Regions from separate parts of the Homo sapiens genome. Here region 1 is linked to region 2. Evidence: promoter capture Hi-C in 16 types of primary human blood cells and fetal thymus (Javierre and others, 2016). All regions are on one chromosome and are shown on one strand. Each heading gives the region's core, a stretch centred on a gene start or on the middle of the fragment in contact. The rest is flanking DNA. Distances are from core to core; before and after follow the strand shown. Region 1 holds the start of ACTBL2 (actin beta like 2). Region 2 holds the start of GAPT (GRB2 binding adaptor protein, transmembrane).

What was found. The method cuts DNA at HindIII sites, captures the fragments that hold promoters and counts their contacts. A CHiCAGO score of 5 or more calls a contact.
Region 1: a contact is called between the fragment with the promoter of ACTBL2 here and the fragment with the promoter of GAPT in region 2, in 4 of 17 cell types (naive CD4 T cells, fetal thymus, total CD4 T cells and 1 more). The highest score is 5.4, in naive CD4 T cells.

The regions. Positions count from the first base shown.
Region 1 is chr5:57,479,896-57,484,098 of GRCh38, reverse strand. It overlaps ACTBL2 (actin beta like 2), which reads left to right and starts at 1,288. Exons shown (of 1, transcript NM_001017992.4): 1 at 1,288-4,081. The coding sequence starts at 1,392. The coding sequence ends at 2,522. All of the region lies in intron 1 of RMEL3 (enriched in melanoma 3), which reads right to left. The HindIII fragment of the contact is 2,872 bases long and covers 1-2,853 here.
Region 2 is chr5:58,489,546-58,493,901 of GRCh38, reverse strand. It overlaps GAPT (GRB2 binding adaptor protein, transmembrane), which reads right to left and starts at 2,467. Exons shown (of 3, transcript NM_001304431.2): 1 at 2,361-2,467; 2 at 64-191. The HindIII fragment of the contact is 6,945 bases long and covers 1-4,356 here.

The DNA.
Region 1 (4,203 bases), core at 39-2,538, 1.0 Mb after region 2:
ATGATGAACCCAAATAAAGATTATTTTGGAGAACTCAGATGTAGACATGGAAAATTTCTTTGCTTTACAAGAGCTCACAAAGATAATTATATTCTATTCGCCTAACACATAGGGGAGCAGAAGTAATGAGCTTTCTTAAATGCTATTTCTCTGTAACACATTGCTGATGTCCTACATTTTACCATCATACACATCTTTTCAGGTAGTCTGTATTTCTATATGAAACATGGAACCCAAACAAATTGTTGCTATGAAGTGATCAGGGTGTAATATATCTTGAAATGGAAGGAAAGCTAGTATAATTCTAATTGTATAGATTTTAATAACTACATAGAGGTTTAATGTTATAATATAGTATATGTATCTTGAAGATCAAAATGTTTTAAGGATTAGTTTAAATATATAATTTTTCAAATTTGTCTTATCACTTCATTTTGTCCATTGTTGCAGAACTCAAGAGTTGTTGCAAATAAATAAATTTTTATAACCTGCATCTTAATAAATCATGCAAAATAGTTGACATTCAGTCATTATACAATTAACATGGACCCAATGAACCTGGTTCTATGAACAATGTCTAGACACAGTAAATGTTTAATGAAATTTGGTTGTTAGAAATTTATATCAGAAAAAAGTATCTATATGGGTTAACTTTAGCAATCATTCTATTCCTTTCGCTTGATCTCTGATGGATTAGAAGTCTATTAAATATCTCTACATTTTGCTTGACACAAGTGCATTGTAATTACAGCCATCAGGCCATCCTTAGCCATTTATTATTTTCATTTACTAAAACAGTCTCTACGATGATGACACCCTGTGGGATTAGGAATCTAATGGAAACAAAAATCTTGAAAAAGTGAAGATTGCAGGGTAAGACCCCTCATCAGAACAGTATCTTAAGAATGAAAAGGTAAGCTAGTGTAGGAAAAGTGAATCCTCAGGGACGCTAAGGAGGGAGCCTTCCTCCCAGCAGTGTTGCCATACCTAGCACCAGCTTTCTTTCATCTTGCTTTTATATCCCCCACTGCATCATCATAGTTATCTAGAGACCTCACCAGGCAGGCTGACGGTCATGTGTGGGTTGCCTAATTACAGGAACCTGAGATTTGACCACTTGGCAGCCAATTTTCTCTTTATGTAGAAAGATCTAATTGTTTATGTAATCATCACCATCATTAATACCTCAGAGATGACCTCATCCAGAAATGCTGGGAACTGGTGGAGTAGGACATGGGCGGAGTCAGTGTGTTCCTTTAAATACCTGTGGTCCCGGTGCAGCCTCCCGTGTCTGAAAGCATTTCTGGAGTGTTTTAGGCCTGTTCACTTTCTCTTACTCACTGTCTATTCACTTGTCCTGTTCACTCGTCTGGAAGATCTCAGCCAGCACCATGACTGACAATGAGCTGTCTGCCTTGGTAGTGGATAATGGGTCAGGGATGTGCAAGGCAGGCTTTGGTGGTGACGATGCCCCCCGGGCTGTGTTCCCCTCCATGATAGGGCGTCCTCGACACCAGGGCGTTATGGTAGGCATGGGCCAGAAGGACTGCTACGTGGGAGATGAGGCTCAGAGCAAGAGAGGCGTCCTGACCCTGAAGTATCCTATCGAGCATGGAGTGGTCACCAACTGGGACGATATGGAAAAGATCTGGTACCACACATTCTACAATGAGCTCCGTGTGGCACCAGATGAGCATCCCATCCTCCTCACCGAGGCACCCCTGAACCCCAAGATCAACCGGGAAAAGATGACTCAGATCATGTTCGAGGCTTTCAACACACCAGCCATGTATGTCGCCATCCAGGCTGTGCTGTCCCTCTATGCCTCAGGACGGACCACAGGCATCGTGATGGATTCTGGGGATGGGGTCACTCACATCGTGCCCATCTATGAAGGTTATGCCCTGCCTCATGCCATTCTACGCCTGGATCTGGCAGGGAGAGACCTGACTGATTACCTCATGAAGATCCTGACAGAGCGAGGCTATAACTTCACCACCACTGCTGAGCGGGAGATTGTGCGAGATGTCAAAGAGAAGCTGTGCTACGTAGCCCTGGACTTTGAGCAGGAGATGGTCAGGGCAGCCGCATCCTCCTCACCGGAACGGAGCTATGAACTTCCTGATGGGCAGGTGATCACCATTGGGAATGAACGCTTCCGATGCCCTGAAGCCATTTTCCAGCCTTCCTTTCTGGGCATTGAGTCCAGTGGGATCCATGAGACAACCTTCAACTCTATCATGAAGTGCGATGTGGATATTCGCAAGGATCTCTATGCCAACACCGTGTTATCTGGAGGGAGCACCATGTACCCAGGCATTGCTGACAGGATGCAGAAAGAAATCATAACCCTGGCACCCAGCACCATGAAAATCAAGATCATAGCTCCCCCAGAGCGGAAGTATTCTGTTTGGATTGGGGGCTCCATCCTTGCCAGCCTGTCCACATTCCAGCAGATGTGGATCAGTAAGCAGGAATATGATGAGGCTGGTCCTCCTATCGTTCACAGAAAATGTTTCTGAATGGGCTTCCATATTAGTGGGCTTACATTTTCCCTTTTCCTAGGTCACAGTGATGGTACTGCTTTTATCCGCTTTCAGTAGAATCGAGGTAAATACGTCACTCTTCCTAGTGTAAACCAGCAAACCCATCTCTCCATCCAAGTAACCTGGGCTCTTACCCAGATAACCACATCCGGTTCTCCATCAAGTGAAGGTGAATTCTAATACCATATTCCTTTTTCTTTGCCTATACTGTTCAAAGATAGGTAGGCCAGCTTAAATACATATAAGTGACAAGGAGTAAAATCACGAGAAATGTCATTTCAGAATGGATAACTATAATTATCAAGCTTTAAAACTTAGTTCTCGCTAAAATATTTAACAAGAACAGGCTGTATAAACTTGTTTAAAAAAAAAAGGTGCGTATGCATTTAGCAGCCGTGTCTTACTAGTTAAGTATCTTTGTTTTGTTTACTTCTTTGTATGGAGATAATGAATTATAAAGTTCAATAATATCCATATATACATAAGCACCAGGGAAATAAAATATATTGTGAAATATGCTGATGTATCTAGCTATCTGAACAGCTAATGTGAATTTCTTTACTCCCAAAAGTCATCGTTGTACTAGGTACATATTTTAATTGTTTCCCTTACTAAATAAGCATAATGAGACAGCCACCATTCCATTAATGTTTATAAATCATCTAAATTTTCAGCTCATAGTGGAGTTCTGCTGGTCAAATTATATTTTAATATCTTTCTTACTGAACCTTCTCATACCAAAACTACAGACAATGTCTAATTCTTAAGAGAGATAGATATTATAATATCAAATTAATGTCATTATGGTACAATTTGACAGAGGTAATTTTATTTCTATTTCTTAGTGTAATAGCACATCTTAAATAATTTCTGTAGACCAGGATTACAGATACTTCTCTTGTGCAAGGATTTCACTGTGGGAAAATATAGCTGCAGCATCTTTATTAATTATACATTTTACTACCAGTATACTAACACAGTTTTATCCTTGGAAAGCTTTTAGAATAATTCTACTTTATTATGTCCAGTAACTAGCAATACTTATTTATGCAAAGTGTCTCTGAGATACTAACATCTTTGAAAATATCAATGTATGTTCCTATAATGTCTAAAATATTTTAGTTACTCCAGTGATGATTTATTAACCAATTTTAAGTACCAGTATGTTTATTCCAATCTATGCAGTGATTTCTGAATATTTGGATATCAGCATTATTTGTATTTTTCAGGGTAATTTCTGAAAATTTAAAATATTTATTTGGATTGCTTATTCAGGCATTATAAGGTACTCTGGAGGAAGGAATCACTTCTCTTTTTTTCTTAGTTGGGAAACTTGTACTTATGTTATAAATCTTTAAAATGGAATCAGTAAGAATTTTTTGTTTAAGGTAATACTTTTCAAATAATTTGATTATTCCTTATTGGCTTTATCTGACAACATAATCTTTAAAATGCATGTAACCAAAATTAATCTCCAAAAACACTTTATTTTATATAACTTGCTTTCAGTACATTAAAATTGCTTCATACTTGTATACTTAGATTTCCTGTTATTTCTCCTCAACCATTCCCTTAGAATTAGAGAATGATCCAGATAGCATCTCTTTTTATATGTGTGACCTATTCATCTGTATGTTACAATTTTGCACCTCATACA
Region 2 (4,356 bases), core at 1,218-3,717:
TAATGTTCTGAGCACAATAGAAAAAAAGGGACATATACAGACACGTGCAATCATCTTTATTACCTGTCACCTCTTCTGTGAAGCCCTGCTTATCCTTTTTTGGAGCAGTCAGAGGCCATGTCTTTTTCTTAACCATTCCTTCCTCTGTAATCCCATATTAATGAGTCCATTCTCTATTATAGCGTGATAACCTAAATGAGAGAGAATTGTATTCTTACTTGGTTAAATGGTGGGCAGGGTTCAGGTCATTTCATCTGTATGTTCCCAGAGAATGGCACAACACCTAGCACAGAAAATGCATCCAATCAATATTTATTGAATGAAATAATGCATTTAAAAATGACTGCAAATGTCAGCATCTAATTGCTTAAGATGATAGTTTAAAACTCAAGGGTGTAGTTTATACTTAAAACATGAAATGAGATCTTTAAAGTAAACCAATGTATTTTCAAAATCCTTAGTATCACAGGTTTTCTCATAGCTTTCAGAAAATAACTTCCATGCAAGATGATTTTACATTGTTTTCTGTTGATGCTTTAAAATGGCAAGGAGACAAGAAGGGGAAGTGTTCAACTGGGCTGCATGTTCCATTGTGATTTTATCAACAAAACATTATTACTGTATATTTTCAGTCTAGACATAGACATAGATCCAACAGTGCCTGTGAAATGATTATTATCATCTATGGAATGTTATTATCATCAATAATGTTTAGTTAAGAGTTTCAGCTTTTAAAAACTGTTACAGGGATTATCTCATTTAATCCTATAGCTGCTATATGTAGTGGGTACTATTCATATCACCATTTTATAGATAAGAAGAGAGGCTTAAAGAAGTTAAGTAACTTCCTTACAACCAAAATGTGACTGAATGAGAATTCAGGTAAAAATTTCCCCAAAATATTATTTATCCAAATATCTGTAACATGCTACTAAGTGCATCAGTCAGAAAATTTGTATAGCTTGATTAGCTCTGAGGTTCTCGAAGGTTGGAAATCATATATTATTTACCTTTGTATTACCAACACCAGCATTAGACACAGAATGACTAATCTATTAGACATTTGTTAATGAATGAAGTAATCTCCTTATGGGATAATAATAGTAACAATGAGAAGAAAAATAGAAATTCACAAAGTGGTGCTCTGCTTTCAGTGAGTTTTCATGAAAAGTTTAATGGTAATGAACGTTCATAAATTTGTCCAAGGTTAGAATATATTAATATGCAAATATTTAATTTGACATTTCATAAAAGAAAATTAAATAAGATGTGCAGCTAATTTATACAATTTTTTGATAAAAATACAGGGACAAGCACCCCAGATGCAGAAACATTTTAATCTCCTTGGAATTTTTGGGAGTAATATTGAGGTTGAGAACTGTATGGTCCGCCACATAAGATTTACAATCTGCAGGGTCCCTCCTTTATAAGGCCAGCCGTGCTTGTGTTCAAGGACAAAAGTTTAGCCAAATGACTTTAATCATTAGGACCTCATTTCCTGTCTGAAACAGATGAGCACCAATTATCTGCAAGATATTTTATGGTATACATGGTTAATGATTTAAGAAGTTATTTGCCAGAATATTTGAAATAAATTTACAAAATACACTTTAAGTATTGATTGAAATTAATCAACTTTTTGAAAGATACTAGGCCTGCAACAGAAGTCACGGTGAGGGTTGAGGAAGGCTAACTATTGTCACTTCTGTAGCTGAGGATAAGGCAATAAATTACTCTCTTAATTTTTAAGAAGAAAAGGCATTTTTACCATCTATGTTATTCTATGTAGAGTAGAAATTCTGGTACATCCAAAATATTAAAATTGTTTGTCTAAGAGATATTTACCAAGATAAAGACAAGAAGACTTTTTACAGAAAAAGAAATGCATCATTTTCTTCGAAATAACATTAGAGGAAAAAACCTGTGAGACATGAACAAAGACCTACTATAATGAAAAACATATTTTAAACAATAACCATTCAAATATAGTTTAACACTTAAATAATGTTCACTTTGACCAGTTTGAAAGAAGACTCTGTTTTCATTTTGGAAAGCAGTTCCAACAGGTTACCTAACAATTTGACATTTTTCTTAAAATCGCAAATTGTTGAGAAACTTCAGGAATTTTCAAGTAAGAGAATGCCCTGCTGTTTGGAAACAAGGTAACAGCAAAGCATAATCATATTGTAAAGAAACATTAACATCACTCTCAGTTTGTAAATTGGGTTTCCCCCTTACAGCTACGTAAGGCATTTTTTTCTAAAAACTGTAGTAAGATAAAAATCATTGATTAATTAAAGACAAACTTGTTTCTTATAGTGTTTAATCATCCAAATACCTTAAATCAGGTTCTTACTTACCTCAAGATTGGTGTGTCAAGCTCTCTCTTTTGTTCTTTTGGTTATGTTTTAAACCTGCATTGGGTTAGAACTTGTTCCTCTTTTTCACTTTGGTGGGTTACTTCCTTCTTTCCCTCCTTCGTTCACGCTATTTAATACTTGCAAAGTTTCCTGGCTCTAGAGGAAGTCAGTATCAGATGCAGCAGAATTAAGATAAATGGCGTGAGGTTTTGAATAAGGAAGTCTGGCCCTTCATCTTTGTCAAGTAATAGTTTTTTAACTGTGTCAGAAAATAATACGTAAAGCCTACATGGTTTTTTATTTGGGCCATATTTGCAGTTCCCACTTTAATATCAATAAAAGTCACTTCACTTGTACTTTGATTTTTTAAAAAAAGAAATATTTTAATTGTAGTAACACATAGGTCTTGGGCTTTTATTATTATTATTATTATTTACTTGTGTTGCTAGACCAGTCCTCTCTTCAAATATTAATATTATGTACCAATGCTCCCAAGTTATAGCCATACAGGTCAAATCAGTGTCCCAATTTGGGTTTGGAAAATGTTAACGTTCTTTTAAATTTATAAATAGGAATTTCCTAAGGTATGTTTTGAGGCCCATTACCCCTGAGATATGCTAGCAGCTCTTCCATCAAGTAAATGTGGGGAATACTGCTTCCCTGGAGATTCATGGGTACATCAGCATGCTAAAGGCTCTCAGCAGTCTTACAGCCAGCAAACAAAATAAAACCAAATAAGAAAAAGAAATTGTTTAACTTTGCTTAATAATAGTAGTCAGTATGTTCCTAGCACTAAGTACTCCAAACCTTTTGTGTAATACTCAGCAAATCTTGGCAACAACCCTGTGAGGGAGAAAAACTGTTATTAGTCCTATTTTACAGAAGAGGAAACAGAAGCACACAGAATGATCACTTGCCCGACAGAGCCTGCAGTTTGCCCCCAGCACCTGTGTGCTAAACCACTGCACTGGCTGCCTTGCTAGATTGAGTAACATGTTTCCCACATAGATACGCTTACCAAGAGCATCTCTTGGAGTCCAACTCATGGGAACACACACAGTGGGAGATGCTGAATTAGACAAATTACAGATGAATTCGACAGATGAGATGACAAAGTAATGGAAAATTTGTCTTTTAAGTTGTCTTGGAACTTTTTGAACCACAGAGGATTAACTTTGCATAAGGTGGTTTTAAAAAAGAGGATTTAGTTACTGAAATAACTACTGGACATTGGAAGGACAGGACGTATTATTAACACTTGCTGAGCACTGACATTATGCCAGGCATTGTGCTAAGAGATGAGGATGCAAGAGTGAATAAGCTCCCTGCAGCACTTAAAGCCAAGTAGAGAGGCTGCTGCGCCCACAGAACATTTCAGATCAAAGTGATAATGCCTAAGAAAGACAGGATTATGGACAGGGACAGTGGAGGTAAAGGAAAGAGGCATCCAGCTCAGAGGGTGGTCAGGGAAGGCAAGACCTGAGCTAAGCCTCATAGAATAAGGTGTTAAGGCAGAATAGGGGTGTCCTGGACAAAAATCTTACAGTGAAGGAGGTTATGAAGTTGTGAAGCTATGAACTTGATGTGCTCCACATTCTCACCACTATATTTAACTTCAGTATTAGCCACCCCTCCAAATAATATACACACTCACCTGCCTAGGCATACATCTGTAAGAAAGGCAATTTATACAATGTTTGTATAAAATTATGATTTTCTCTAGAAGGCAGGACAACTGGTGCTCATTCAGCTTTTGCCCTTTGAAGTTAAAAAAGTTGCTTAACCCCTTATTACTTTAGTTTTTCTAACGGAAAATAAAATGGAGGGAAAATGACTGGCACTTTCCTCAAATAGAATTTTTTTGATGTAATGGATATAATTATTCTTCAAGTTTATAAAAGAAATGCTGTATATATTCAAAATAGAATTATTGGATCATTGTCATTTGTAGGGATTATGTTTTATGTCTTGAATTCTATATTTTCCTACTTCCCAA